Regions from separate parts of the Homo sapiens genome. Here regions 2 and 3 are each linked to region 1. The links are contacts of gene promoters, found by promoter capture Hi-C in blood cells and fetal thymus (Javierre and others, 2016). All regions are on one chromosome and are shown on one strand. Each heading gives the region's core, a stretch centred on a gene start or on the middle of the fragment in contact. The rest is flanking DNA. Distances are from core to core; before and after follow the strand shown.

What was found. The method cuts DNA at HindIII sites, captures the fragments that hold promoters and counts their contacts. A CHiCAGO score of 5 or more calls a contact.
Region 2: a contact is called between a fragment that was not itself captured here and the fragment with the promoter of MTSS1 in region 1, in 2 of 17 cell types (naive B cells and megakaryocytes). The highest score is 6.6, in naive B cells.
Region 3: a contact is called between a fragment that was not itself captured here and the fragment with the promoter of MTSS1 in region 1, in 2 of 17 cell types (erythroblasts and M0 macrophages). The highest score is 6.0, in erythroblasts.

Annotation. Positions count from the first base shown.
Region 1 is chr8:124,726,611-124,731,495 of GRCh38, forward strand. MTSS1 (MTSS I-BAR domain containing 1) reads right to left here and starts at 1,863. Exons shown (of 14, transcript NM_014751.6): 1 at 1,274-1,863. The coding sequence starts at 1,345. LOC105375741 (a long non-coding RNA gene) reads left to right here and starts at 1,929. Exons shown (of 3, transcript XR_002956670.2): 1 at 1,929-3,456; 2 at 4,448-4,510. The HindIII fragment of the contact is 14,334 bases long and covers 1-4,885 here.
Region 2 is chr8:125,031,869-125,036,753 of GRCh38, forward strand. WASHC5 (WASH complex subunit 5) reads right to left here. Exons shown (of 29, transcript NM_014846.4): 27 at 373-526. Among named protein-coding and RNA genes, the nearest start is that of WASHC5-AS1, 6.4 kb to the right of the region's middle. RefSeq lists an enhancer at 1-925. The HindIII fragment of the contact is 917 bases long and covers 3,017-3,933 here.
Region 3 is chr8:125,013,112-125,017,996 of GRCh38, forward strand. The region is part of intron 7 of SQLE (squalene epoxidase); the gene reads left to right. Among named protein-coding and RNA genes, the nearest start is that of SQLE, 17 kb to the left of the region's middle. The HindIII fragment of the contact is 771 bases long and covers 2,462-3,232 here.

The DNA.
Region 1 (4,885 bases), core at 613-3,112:
AAGGTGGAAGCAGGCCATGACAGCTGAGCATTCCTTCCCAAAGACCATCTCCGAGGCACGAAGCCTCTCTAAACCTTACACTTCATCAGACAAAAGCTCCTCCAGGCGCCCAGGCAGCGGCTGAAGAGGGGCTGTCCACACCCACTCGGTGCACAGCTTTCCAAACCTGCCCACTCGTTTTGGAAGCGAGCTTTTAATTAAACACCACCTCCCCGGATCTGGATCTGTTGAGGCAAACTGGGGCTGGGCCAGAGCCAAAGAGAAGCTCCCTAAATACACATTAAAAAAATAATTTCCCCCACCGCTCCCAATTCCCACCTCCAGCCAGCTCGCGCGGCTGGTTTTATTTCCTCTGGATGAATAACACGGGGCCCTGGTCTATCTCTAGGCACCAGAAAATCCACATCCGAGGATCAGGTTATCCCCAGTCCCACCCTTTGCAGGAAAAAACCAGGGTGTTGTTCCCCGCCCCCACGCGCGCGCGCGCACACACACATGCACGCGCGCACACACACACCATCTTCACAACCCTTCCAAGAGAAAACCTAGAGTGTGTGTCCGTTTGGGTCTGGGAGGGCAGGATACAGTTATTTCGGGGGCCCCAATCTTGCCTTTAGGCTCAGCTGGGAGAAGGCGGGGCCCCTGCAAGGCTGCCCGGGAACTTCGGCCCCGCGCCCCGCGGGAGGGCTAAGAGAGGGCACGCACACCTTTACCAGCTTCGGAACGGCCCAATTAATAACTAATTTGCTCAGATACCCCACTCCAAGTAGACCTGACAGCCAAGGAGGGACTGGCTTTCCCTCTCAGTCTCCTAGGCTAGGGGACTCCTTCCTGCGAGCGGGCAGAGCCCCCACTTCCTCCCCACCACCGCGCCAGGCGCCCCCACCCCGTGCCCGGAGGAATCAGGTGTCCTCCCGGGCATCCAGCCCCCGCGGGTCCCAGACACTTACTTCAGGGACAGACAATGGGAAAACTTGCAGCCAGTGCCTTGAGCCCCCGAGGGAAAGAAATGGTGCCGCCCCCTGGGACAATGAGCGGGGGAGATGGCGTGGGACAGCAGACACCCCCCAGAGAAGCCACCCGCCCAGTGACCCCGCAGAGCCCGGAGCAGCGCCCCGGGTGAGCAGGTGACACTCCGGCCGGGAGCTCCCGCAGGTGGCCGGTGGCCACACTGCAGGGAAGGGCCGGGTGCCCGGCCCGGGGTGGAGGCGAAGCGCGGCGGCGAGGTCAGAGCGCGGCGGCCGGCGCCGCAGCCGCACCCCCGGCGTCCTACCTTCATGTCGCTGATGATGGTCTGGAAGAGGCCTCCGAGCGCGCTGCATTCCTTCTCAATCACAGCCTCCATTTTCCCGGCTCCGGCAGGGCGAGGGCACACACGCGGGGCCGCTGGACTGCGCGCGGGGCCGGGGCTCGCTCACCCCAGAAGGAATTTCACCTTCCGAGAGACCCACCTCGGACTCGCAGCCTCTTCTGCAGCGAGGACGGGGTGCACCAGACCGACTGTTCTCTGCCCAAAATAATAACAGTAATTTAAAAAGCCAAACCGCTCTGTAGGGTATTCGCCTACAAGCAGCGCTCGGCTCCTGGCCTTAAAAATGCCGGGAGAAGACTGACAATCAGGCCACCACTGGTGCCCACTACGGAAACGGCAAAGCCCATCTTGATGCAGAGAAAATCGCCCGCTGACCCGGGGCCAGCGCCATTGAAAAACGCAAGATTTTCCAATTTAATAAATTTTTCTGCAATTAAAAAAAAATCGCCCAACAGCAGAGCGGGTCAGCTCGCGGCGTCCGGATCTGTTGCTCGCAGCTGCGGCCGCCGCCTCCTTTTCACTCCTGCGCGCCCGGCCCCGGCGCTCGCTCTGGCTGGGCTCCCGGGGACGTTCGGAGGGGCGCACGCGCGCTCGCGGCCGTGCCCGCCAAGCGGAGGCGCGCTCTCGCGGCCGTGCGGCCGCCGCACGCGGGCGGGGCTGGGAGCGCGCGCCCGAGAGGCGCGTGGGGCACCCGCCGCAAAGAGGAGCCTGCTGGTCTGCTGGCGGGCAGGCGGCGCTGGGCCGGAGCCTCTCCCTCCGGTGCGCACAGCGCACCCTCTCCTCCCCCGGCCGCCCGTCGCAGCGCGGAGAGGGCGTGTCGGCACCCTGCCTGGCGAGCGCCCACCCCTACAATGGCTGCGAGCGCGCGGGACGGAGGGTGCACCGCCGCTCCCCGGGGACTTGCACGGGTGGCGCGCCTAGCCCAGAGCCCGCTTGTAGTGAGCGCTCAGTAGGGCGGGAAAGCTGCTGCCGCTACTGCGGCCTTCTGAGAAGACGCCCATTCTCTGATGTCAGGACTGCATCGCCGAGTCCTGATTGCAAATAGCGAAATATATAATTAAGGAGAGTTCGGGGGCGTATCCTGCAATGGGATGCCGAGTTCGATAAAGTTGCAGGATGCTGGGAAAGTGGATTGATTTGCTGTTGCTAAATGAATGGAAACAGCGTTAGAGCTTCTGTCCACGATCCATCAGTCTATCGAGATTGCTGATTGCCTATGACTTGGACGGTTGATGGTTTTCAGGCCCACTGAGAGCAGCCAGCGTTGGTATAACCGCAGGGAGCCCTCCTGGGAGGTTGAACCTGCAGAGCGCAAATGTGCCCAGGTTGATTTGGGGCCTAGTGGTCCATTTTCACAGCTCCACTGCCTATCTGCATAACCAGGAGCCCTCATTCAGATGAACGCCAAATGGGCCAGAGGGAGGAGAATCAAATGAGCAACTTTTAAAAGATATTAAGACATAGGCACCTAACTCCGGACAGTTCCTTTAACCCTTGAGCTAACCATTTGAAGCACAAAACATAACAAAAGAAAAGACTGGGGGGAGTGGGGCCAAAAGAAACCAAGTGCAAAATTCTGTACACTTGTGTCAGATTCACTCCGTAATGGGAAAAGGTCTGGCTTTGAAAACTTTATGGATCAAAGGGATGCATGGAGTTACACAGCACAGCTGCAGAAGATAATGTTCCCCTGGATCACTCTGCCCAACTCTTAACTGCAACCCACCTTCCCCATCCGTCTCCCCGAAATCACCCGGAAGGGTGTTACCTTCAGGAAGTAACTGATCTCTTGATCACCCCTGCTGGATCCTGTCCCCAAGGGCGTTCGAATGCATCCGACTCATCTTCACCTTGCCAATAACGGGTGCTTGACACATCGTTTGCTGCCAATCATTATTGTGATTTTAATACTATTGGTATTCTAACTATCAAGATGACTGCTTGTAGAGCCAGATTGCCTGGATTCAAACTCCAGTTCACAACCTACTAACTGTATGCCTTTAGGTATGTTACTTAACCTTTCTGGGCCTCAGTTTCCTCATCCATCTGTAAATGGGGATAATGATGGCTTCTACCTGATAGGGCTGTTCTGAACATTACATGAGCTGATCGATGAAAGCACTTCAAGTGGTACCTGGCATCTCGTAAGTAATCATTCGATAAATCTTATCAACAGAAGAAGCAGGGATGAGGCCAAGGCTCAGGTCCAGCCCTGGCCCCATTTCACTTCTGTAACATTGGTGTGCTGTCCCAGGCACATTGCTGAGGGTCTACTGTGTGCATTCTGGGCATTTTATACGTATTATGTCTACTTGAAGGAAATTATCATTCTGGTCCTTGTTGCACTGTTGGAAGGAATCCAACCCTGGTTTTCTGACTTCCATGCCCCAGGTCTCTCTTTTACCCAGCCTCCTGAACTCCTGGGATAAGGGGCCTTAGCCCAGTGGACACTTGGTCTAGCTTTCCTGCCACATGCTTAAATTTCAATGCCCCAAATACCCCAACTTTAGCAATGTTTGCCAAAGCATACCTCTCTTGTGGCCTTTTTCCCTGGGCCTGACCACCAGGCCCTTGTCTCTCATGAGAACTCCTTGAAAGGGAGGCTGGAAAAGTGTTCCCAGATGCAGGAAAGTGGGAGTGACACCTGGCAATTTTTTTTTTTTTTTTTTTTTTTTGAGACAGGGCCTCACTCTGTCACCCAGGCTGGAGAGCAGTAGCGCGATCTCGGCTCACTGCAACCTCCACCTCTCAGGTTCAAGCGATTCTCCTGCCTCAGCCTCCATGTTGGTCAGGCTGGTCTCGAACTCCTGACCTCAGATGATCTACCCGCCTCGGCCTCCCAAAGTACTGGGATTACAGGCGTGAGCCATTGTGCCTGGCCAGCTGTCATACATTCTTTCCTTGTTTTCAGATTCTCCTTTGTTTCTGGCTGTTGGGGACTTCCCTTCTTTTAGACTGGCTCTGCATATATTTAAAGAGATTCTGATTACATTTTACCAACTGTGTCTACGTGGCTATGGCAGGAGGGGTTTCAGGTTATAGAATCTGCCTCTGCGACAATAGGGTGTCCCGTTTTTGTTGTTTACATGATGAAATGTTGGGTTTTGTGTAATGTATAATATTTTACACTTTTAGGTAAACTCAGATGCCTCTGATGGATTCGAAATAACCAGATATATTTCTGAATTGCTTCATATGGTATGTAAACTTAAGGTTTTCTAAACTAATATCTTTTTCATGCTCTTTTATTGCTACTCTGACCAGACCCTTATCTTACTTATAAAATATATATTTTTCTCATCATGCTTATATGGTACAGAAAGAGCTAAGCCCCAGAAATACTGTTAATGAGAGGGAGATCAGGTCCTGGACAGTCTTGGTTTATAACTTGCAGCAGGGATATCTGTTCCCCTGAGAGCCCAGTTCTCCATATCAAGGCACTGCAGAAGTCAAATTAGTAGTCAGCAGGCAGCTTGGGAGCACATAAACAAAGCAAAGGAGATTGGATGCTCCTGGGAGGACAGGCGTGGTTTGGTACAAAGCAGGTGCTCAAGAAATGTCTCAGGAATGGAA
Region 2 (4,885 bases), core at 2,225-4,724, 310 kb after region 1:
AGTGAGTGGAATCATCTCTTGGCAGTGGCCCAGCAGGAGTGCAGGGGCTCGCTGAGATTGAAGAGCTGCATCCAAGAGTGCAGAGGAACAGGGCTGCACTTTCTTCCCCATGGTAGTTACTATTCATGGTCCTGAGTCACTCCTGGAAAATCAATGTGAGTAGACCGGATGGAGTTCCCCTGGCAGGGTGACTAAGGATGGACACACCTGTAATTGCTCTAAACAAGGAGGTATGCCCTGACTTGCTTTACAGAGAAGGGTGAGCAACCATTTCCCATCTCTATTAGGGCGATAAGAGGAATTTGGTAATGTGAGGTTTAAGTTAGGTTTTGTGACAAGAAGTCCCACGTAGTCCTGGTTGGTCTTCTGTACCTTGTACACTGCTCCACCGTGGAGCAGATAAACTGGCCAATCAGCGCCAGGAACTGCTCGGTGTACCGGGAATGGAACTGCTTCAGCAGAGTGAGCAGTCCCAGGACAAGTGGTGGCCAATCAACCGGGTCGGTCGGTTTTCGGCAGACCATTCCTGCAAGGGAACAAGTTGCAACACCATATGAAGTACTTGCCTTCAGCAACATTCATTAAATACCAACGCTGTGAAGGTCAAAATGTTTGGGGCCCATATTCTCGCTGGCAGATGATATTTTGGAGGGAATGACAATTCTGGGCCATATTTTGAATTAGCCACAGGATTGGTAGGGCATTCCAGGGGTCTGAAGGATTCAAAACCAATAAAACGGTTACTAAATTTTGTAATTATCATTACTGGTTCTTTTGAATTACTCAATTAACATATATTATTGTAGCAATTTTTAAAGATACAGATAAATGTAAATGAGAAAAAAAATCACTACAACTGACTTCTGTTAACGGCAGCATGACATACTAGATACCCTGAACTACTATCTTAAGTGAAAAGCTGGATAAAATACTTTTAGGGTATCTTTAAACAAATGTTGAGTAATATATATACATAAAGAATCTGCAGAAATCAAGAGAGTGGAAGAAGGATATTTATGAAGTGAATGAGTATCAAAGCTGGCCTTTACACTAACGATTTTTTAAAAATTGGAGATGGGGTCTTGCTATGTTGCCCAGGCTGGAGTGCAGTGGCTATTCGCAGGTGCAATCACAGCACATTATAGCCTTGAATTCCAGGGCTCAAGCTGGGACTATAGGTGTGTACCACTGCACCTGGCTCTACACTAAAGATTTCTGCCAAAATGTGGAGACCCTGACCTCTGCCTGGGTGGCTGCATGGGAAACCAGAGACAGAGATTAGGGTCTTCCAGAAGAAACACAATGTTGAAAAAGAACAGTGTTGGGAAGGTTTAGGTTGCCTGATTTCAAGCTCTCTATACAGTTTCAATAATTAAGACACTATGGCATAAGAACAGACAAATAGATCAATGGAACAGAATAGAGTCTAGAGATAGTCCCACCCTTCTATGAGTAATTGAATAGTCACAAATATACCAAATAATAAAAAAAGATAAATCTTTTAACAAATGGTACTGAAACTGGATAGTCTTATGGGGGAACGACAAACCTTGACCCCTATCTCATACTGTACACAAAAAACAATTAGAGATGAACCACTGGCCTCAATGTAAAAGCAAAGACTACAGAACTGTAAGAAAAAATATCGAAGATATCTTTGTGACCTTGAAGAAGGCAGAGATTTCTTTTTTTTTTTTTTGAGACGGAGCTCACTATGTCACCTAGGCTGGAGGGCAGTGGCACAATCTCGGCTCACTGCAACCTCTGCCTCCCAGGTTCTAGCGATTCTCCTGCCTCAGCCTCCCAAGTAGCTGGGATTACAGGCGTGTGCCACCACGTCTGGCTAATTTTTGTGTTTTTAGTAGAGACGGGTTTCACTATGTTGACCAGGCTGGTCTCAAACTCCTGACCTCAGGTGATCCTCTCGTCTCAGCCTCCCAAAATGCTGGGATTACAGGCATGGGCCACTGTGCCTGGCCTGGCAGAGATTTCTTAGACAAGACAAAAAAGAATAATTATAAAGGAAAAAAATGGATAAACTGGACACCATCAACAGTAAAAACTTCTGCTCATTAAAGTTACCAGTAAAAAAATACATAGATAAGTCACAATATTCTCAAAACATATCTAATAAGGAACTTGTATCCATAATATATACATAACTACTACAACTCTGTAATAAAAAAAAAATTTAAAAACGAGCATAAGACTAGAACAGGCACTTCGCAGAGAAGGATATAAGGAATGGCCAATAAGCACATGAAAAAGTGCTCAAAATCATTAATCATCAGGGAGGCAAATTAAAGCTGCAACAAGATACCATAGATACCCATCAGGATGGCTAAAATGGGCTGGGTTCAGTGGCTTATGCCTGTAATCTTGGCACTTTGGGAGGCCAAGGTGGGTGGAACACTTGAGGTCAGGAGTTCGAGACCAGCCTGGCCAACATGGTGAAACCTGTCTCTACTAACAATACAAAAATTACCCGAGCATGGTGATGCATGCTTGTAGCCTGTAATTCCAGCTACTCAGGTGGCCGAGGCAGAACTGCTTGAACCCAGGAGGTGGAGGTTGCAGTGGGCCGAGATTACGCTACTGCACTTCAGCCTGGGTGACAGAGTGAGACTCTGTTTCAGAAAAAAAAAAAGAATGGCTAAAATGAAAATGACTGACGCCACCAAATAATGGCGAGGATGTGGACTACACATATACTCACTCTTGGTGAGAGTGTAACTGGCACAACCACTTTGGACAAAGGGTTGGCAGTTTCTTATCAAGTTAACTGGTTAGACAGACCCTCAGGTCCCATATTTGACTTCTTGTGAAGACCGGAAAATCTTCCCCAAACCAGAGAAGCCTAAACAAGTGATCCTGAATAACCTAACCTAGGCCTTGGCAATTCAGAACATGGAGGAAGAATCCTAACAGGACTCAGTATGGAGAAATAATCCTTTCCAGGTGGAAAGCAAGAGTGATGTTAACAACAAACACTTCTACAACTAGCACTACACCACGAAGCTTCTTTCTTCAAACACAGACCAAGCCAGGTATGCATTTCATAGGCCAATGCTGAGAACGGTGTTTACAAGGTTAAATAAATGTTTTTCGGATATACAGTTTCAAGGCTCTCTTTACAGTTTCAATAATCAAGACATTATTGGCATAAGAAAAGACAAACACATCAATGGAACAGAATAGTCTAGAGATAGTCTCACCCTTATATGAGCAACTGAATACCCACAAAGATACCAAACAATTGTTCCTTCCTCAGTCCTACTGTAATTTAGTTCCTGCATTAACACATCAGTCTTATTGATGAGAAGAATTATAGTCAGTTATAAACACCACATTTCTAGGATACATAAAGATTTTGTTGTGTTATGTTTTAAGATCTGGGAATTCCAGGGAGAGTGATACTTTCCATAAGCAGCTTTACAATCAAGGTGCCAGGCCCTAATCATATACACAATGAAAAAAAAATTAGAATGAGAAGTCAACAAAAAGTTATTCTTTAATGAAAAGAAGGTTCTTTCTGCACTGACAGTTCATTATCAAGAATCATATATTCCTATTGAATAATAACATAGAACAGAGAGAGAACATGAATCTCTGAATCTTCAGATGAACCTTTACATTACACTTGGGATGGCCCTTTAAATTGATTTTGACCAATATATAGAAAGGGACTCAGCACCTGTTGGGCACTCAGTTTGCGGTGACTTGGCCAAAGTCACATAGGTGATAAGTGGTGAAGCCAGATTCCAAACACACATTGGTTCCCTCCCTCCTACAGCAAGTATTGTTTGAGGAGATCATGCTCTGCCTTCTGTGACAATCACAGGCATTGTCATGGAAGCAGTGTCTAGAATCAATGATTACTTTTGAATGAGAGAATAAAAACATTAAAGAGATTCCACATTTTCACCCTAAAAAAGCTTATGAAATAGGAAAGTACTGTAAGGAAGAAATATATTTAGGAATCTCTAGTTAAGAAACAATGATTACATTTGTAGAAATGCTCTTATAATGCTTTTAAAGTAAACTAAAGTCTATAGTGGATTTTTAAAAATGTCATTTAGCTGGATACAAAGTTTGAAGGCAGAGGAAACACTTTGTTATCTATTATGTAACTACAAAAATATTCTGACGAATGACAAAAATAAATTAGGGTTATATTCCTGGAGAGAACAGACATATTGAAAGGCTTTGGTGTCTCTTGTTTGTACAGAATATTCTGACATACAATCATACATAAAGTATTAAATGTTCATGTATAAATATTAGTCTTATCTCCTTAACTATATTGTTACTTTTCCCATCATGGTTCCAGATACACAGCTGGCACATGCATCCTGTTGAAAGAACAGAACATCAACCAAAAAAAGTTTCTTTCACACCACAATTAGCTGCCTAAACATTAAAGAAGAGAATCAAAACAAAGGTCCCTCACATTCTACAAGCTGGACAATGAACCCTTACTGAGGTAGACCATACTTTGTTGATTTTAAATCCACTGTCTAGGGCTGGGCACAATGGCTCACGCCTGTAATCTCAGCCCTTTAGTTGCCGAGGCAGGTGGATCGCTTGAGCCTAGGAGTTTGAAACCAGTCTCGGCAACATGGCAAAACCCTGTTGCTACAAAAAATACAAAAAAATTAGCTGGGCATGGCGGTGTGCACCTATAGTCCCAGCTACTCAGGAGGCTGAGGTGGAAGGATTCTTGAGCACGAGAGGTCAAGGCCATAGTGAGCTGAGATTGTGCCACTGTACTCCCATCTGAGTGACTGAGTGAGACCTTGTCTCAAAAAATAAATAAAATAAAATAAATAAATAAGTGTACTTAAAAAAAAAATAAATCCGGCCAGGTGTGGTGGCTCATACCTGT
Region 3 (4,885 bases), core at 1,597-4,096, 290 kb after region 1:
ATTGTTGAGTTTCAAGAGTCCTTTATATATTTTAGGTACAAGTCCCTTATTAGATATGTGATTTGCAAAATTTTTCTCATTCTGTGGGTTTTCTTTCCATTCTTCTTAATGGTTTCCATTGAAGTACACATGGTTTAAATTTTCATGTTTATTTTTTCTTTCGTTGCTTGTGCTTTTGATGTCATATTTAGGAAGGCTTTGTCCAATCTAAGTTCAAAAAGATTTACTCCTATGTTTTCTTTTTCTTTTTTTTTTTTTGAGATGGAGTTTCGCTCTTGTCGCCTAGGCTGGAGTGCGATGGTGCGATCTCGGCTCATTGCAACCTCGGCCTCCCAGGTTCAAGCAATTCTCCTGCCTCAGCCTCCCGAGTAGCTGGGATTATAGGTGCTCGCCACCGTGCCCAGCTAATTTTTGTATTTTTAGTAGAGACGGGGTTTCGCCATGTTGGCCAGGCTGGTCTCAAACTCCTGACCTCAGGTGATCCACCCACCTCAGCCTCCCAAAGTCCTGGGATTACAGGCATGAGCCACCATGCCTGGCCTGTTACTCCTATATTTTCTTCTAAGAGTTTTATAGTTTTACCTCTTAAATTTAGCTCTTTGATCCATTTTGAGTTAAATTTTGTGTCTGTTGAGAGGAAGGGGTCCAGCTTGATTTGTTTGTGTGTGGATATTCAGTTGTCCCAGTATCATTTGTTGAAAAGACTGTTTGTTCCCCAGTGAATTTTCTTGCCCTTGTGGTCAAAATTCCCTTGACTGAAAGGTAAGGGTTTCTTTCAACAATATTTTGTAGTTTTCAGAGTATAAGTTTTGCATTTCTTTTGTTAAATTTATTCCTAAGTATTTTACCTTTTTTGATACTTTTGTAAATGGAATTTTCTTAAAGAGGCAGTGGCATGATTAGACTTTTATTTCAGGAATATACTCTGACATTTTTGTGGAGGATGGTTTGGAGGAAAGTCTAGTAAAACATACACTAAGATTAATTATTCTGTCAATGATGATAAAAGGCCAGAACTAGGGTTGTAAAATGAAAGGTAATGAATAAATTTGGGTAATATCTAGGATGTAGAATGTAAAAAACGTGATGATTTGGATATTATAATGAGAGTGAAATCTCTTGATGTAAATTCCAGGTTTCTGGCTTAGATAGTTTTGCCAGCCATTTGCTGACATAGGAACAGGAAAAGGAGTTAATTGGGTTTTCTTTCTTTTTTCTTAGTTTGTCTTAAAGGTTTGCTGATTTTATCTTTTCAAAGAACCAACTTTTCATTTTGTTATCTTTTGTATTTTTTTCATTTCATTTATTTTGGCTCTGATCTTTATTATTTTCTACTAATTTGGGGTTTGGTTTGCTCTTGCTTTTCTGGTTGAGATGCACTGTTAGGTTGTTTATTTGATGTTTTCCTGCTTTTTTGATGTAGGCACTTACTGCTAAAAACTTTCCCTTTAAGTATTGCTTTTGCTGTGTCTCACAGGTTTTATATATTGTCTTTGCATTTTTATTTCTATCAAGAAATTTTTATATTTACTTCTTAATTTCTTCATTGACCCACTGGTCATTCAAGAGCATGTGGTTTAATTTCCATGTGTTTGTATACACAGTCTCCAAAGTTCCTCATAGTACTGATTTCTAGTTTTATTCCACTGTGGTCAGAGAAGATACTTGATATGATTTCAATTGTTTTTTGAATTTTTTAAGCCTTGTTTTGTGGCCTACCCATGATCTATCCTTGTGAATGATCGATTTGCTGAGGAGAAGAATGTGTATTCTGCAGTTGTTGGATGAAATGTTCTGTGAATATTTGTTAGGTCTGTTTGGCCTGTAGTCCAGATTAAGTCTGATGTTTGTTGTTTATCTGTCTGGATGATCTATTCAGTGCTGAAGGTGGGGTGTTGAAGTCTCCAGCCATGATTGTATTGGGGTCTGTCTCCTTAGCTCTAATAATATTTCCTTTATATATCTGAGTGCTCCGGTATTGGGTGCATATGTAATTGTTACATCCTCTTGCTGAATTGACCCCTTTATCATTATCTAATGACCTTCTTTGCCTCTTTTTATAGTTTTTGTCTTGAAATCTATTTTACTGATGTAAATATCACTATGCTCTTTTTTGGTTTCCATTTGCATGGAATATCTTTTTCCATCCCTTCATTTTCAGTCTCTTTGTGGCTTTATAGGTGAAGTGTGTTTATTTTAGGCAGCAGATCGTTGGTTCTTTTTTTAAATCCATTCAGCCACTTACGCCTTTCGAGTGGAGTTTAGTCCATCTACATTGAATGTTATTATTGGTAAGTGCGTACTATTGCCATTTTGTTTTTGTTTTCTGATTGTTTTGCTGTCTTTTCTTCCGTCCTGTTTCCTTTCTGTGAAGGTAATTTTCTCTGGTAGTATGTTTTAATTTCTTGCTTTTAATTTTTTTGCCTACCTCTTGTAGGCTTTTGATTTGAAATTACCAGGAAGCTTGCAGGTCATATCTTATAACCGATTATTTTAAACTGATGACAACTGATTCCACAAACGAGCAGAGAAAACTAATAAAAACTCTACACTTTATCCTCCTTGCTTTTTAACTTTTGTGAGTTTTGTACCTTCATGTAATTGCTTACTGCTCGTTAAGGTCCTTTTCTTTTAGATTGAAGAACTCACTTCGGCATTTCTTGTGGGAAAGTTTGGTGTTGATGAAGTCCCTCGGCTTTTGTTTGTCTGGGAAAGTCTTTATTTCTCCTTCATGTTTGAAGGATATTTTCACTGGATATACTATTGTAGCATAAAAGTTCTTTTCCTTCAGCACTTTCAGTGTGTCTTGCCCCTCTCTCCTGGCCTGTAAGATTTCCACTAAGTCTACTGCCAGACATACTAGAGCTCCATTGTTTGTTGTTTCCTTTCTCTTGTTGCTCTTAGGATCTTTTCTATATCCTTGACCTTTGGGAGTTTGATTATTAAATGGCTTGAACTAGTCTTGTTTGGATTAAATCAATCACCAATCCTTGCTTGGTGTTCTGTAGCTTTCTTGTGCTTGAATATTGATATCTTTCTCTAGATTTGGGAAGTTCTCTGTTATTTTTTCTTCAAATAAACTTTCTACCCTCATCTTTCTATCTCCTTTTAAAGGCCAAGAACTTAGATTTGCTCTTTTGAAATTATTTTCTAGATCTTGTAGGTGTGCCTCATTCTTGATTATTCTTTTTTCTTTTGTCTCCTCTGTGTATTTTCAAATAGCCTGTTTTCAAGCTTACTAATTCTTTCTTCTGCTTGATCAGTTCTACTGTTGAGATTCTGCCATGTTCTTCAGTAAGTTAATTGAATTTTTTATCTCCAGAATTTCTGCTTGATTCTTTTAAATTATTTCAGTTGTTTTGTTAAACTTACCTGATAGCATTCTGAGTTCCTTCTCTGTGTTGTCTTGAATTTTGTTGAGCTTCTCCAAAACAGCTATTTTGAATTCTCTGAAAGCTCACATCTCTGTTACTCTGGGATTGGTCACTGGTGCCTTATTTATTATTGTTAATTTAGTGAGTTCATGTTTTCCTGGATGGTTTTGATGACTGTGGATGTTCACCAATGTCTGGGCATTGATGAGTTAGGTATTTATTGTGGTCTTCGGAGTCTGGGCTTGTTTGTACCCATCTTTCTTGGGAACGCTTTTGAAGTATTCAAAGGGAAGTGAGTGTTGTGATCTAAGTCTTTGGTCATAGCAGCCGTATCTGTATTAAGGGGCACCCCAAGTCCAGTAACATTGTGACCCTTGCAGACTTGTAGAGGTACCGCCTTGGTGGTCTTGGGTAATATCTGGGAGAATTCCCTGGATTATCAGGAAAAGAACTCTTGGTTCTCTTCCCTTACTTTCCCCCAAACAGAGTCTGTCCTTCTTTGTTGAGCTGCCTGGAGCTGTGGGGGACGGGTGACACAGGTATGCCTGTGGCCACCATGACTGGCGTGTGCTGAGTCAGACCTGAAGCCAGTACAGCACTGGGTATTGGTGAAAGGCTTGTGGTGATGACTGCCTGGTCACCGCTGATGTTCCCTCAAGACTCAAGAGCTCTACAGTCAGCACAAATCCAGCCAGGCTTGTGCCCTTCCCTTGAGGGCAGTGAGCTCCTGGGGGCCCAGGACTGGTCCAGAAATGCTGTCTGGGAGCCAGGGCCTGGAGTTGGGAAACTTAGGAATCTACTTGGTGCTCTATTCTACTGCAGCTGAGCTGGCACCCAAACCTTAAGACATATTCCTTCCCACTCTTCCCTCTCCTTTCCTCAAGCAGAAGGAGCCTCTCCCCATGGCCACCAGTGCTCCAGGCCTGCAGTGAGTACTGCCTGGCTGCTGCTGGTGTTCACTCAAGGCTCCAGGGCTCTTCAGTCAGCTGGTGGTGAATGCTGCCAGACCTGGGTCTCTCCCTTCAGTACAATGGGCTCCCCTCTCACCCAGGACGGATCCAAAAATGCTGTCCAGGTGCCAAGACCTAGAATCAGGGACCCCAGGAACCCACTTGGTGCTCTGTCTCACTGGCCAAGCTGGTACCCAGGCTGACTTTTGGTTCTTATGAAGGTGCTTTCCTGTGTGGGAGGGGGATGATCGCCAGAGGACTTGCTTTGTATACCTGGATACCTGTAGATTCTTTTTATTTTCTTCATATTTTAAGGAGGCCTTACAAATGTATTGACATTATTGGACTTGTCATTAGGTTTGTATATGAGCTTCATGAGGGCAGAGGCCACACTCTTGTTATTACCATATCCCCAGTGCCTGGCCACCTATTAGGTACCCAACATTGATTCAAACAACTCTTGAATTTTTGCCTCAGCAAATTTTAATCATGATTTGTTTTCATGTATTTTCACATTTTTCTTATTATTAGCTTACATCAGTAATCTTTATACATTGAGTT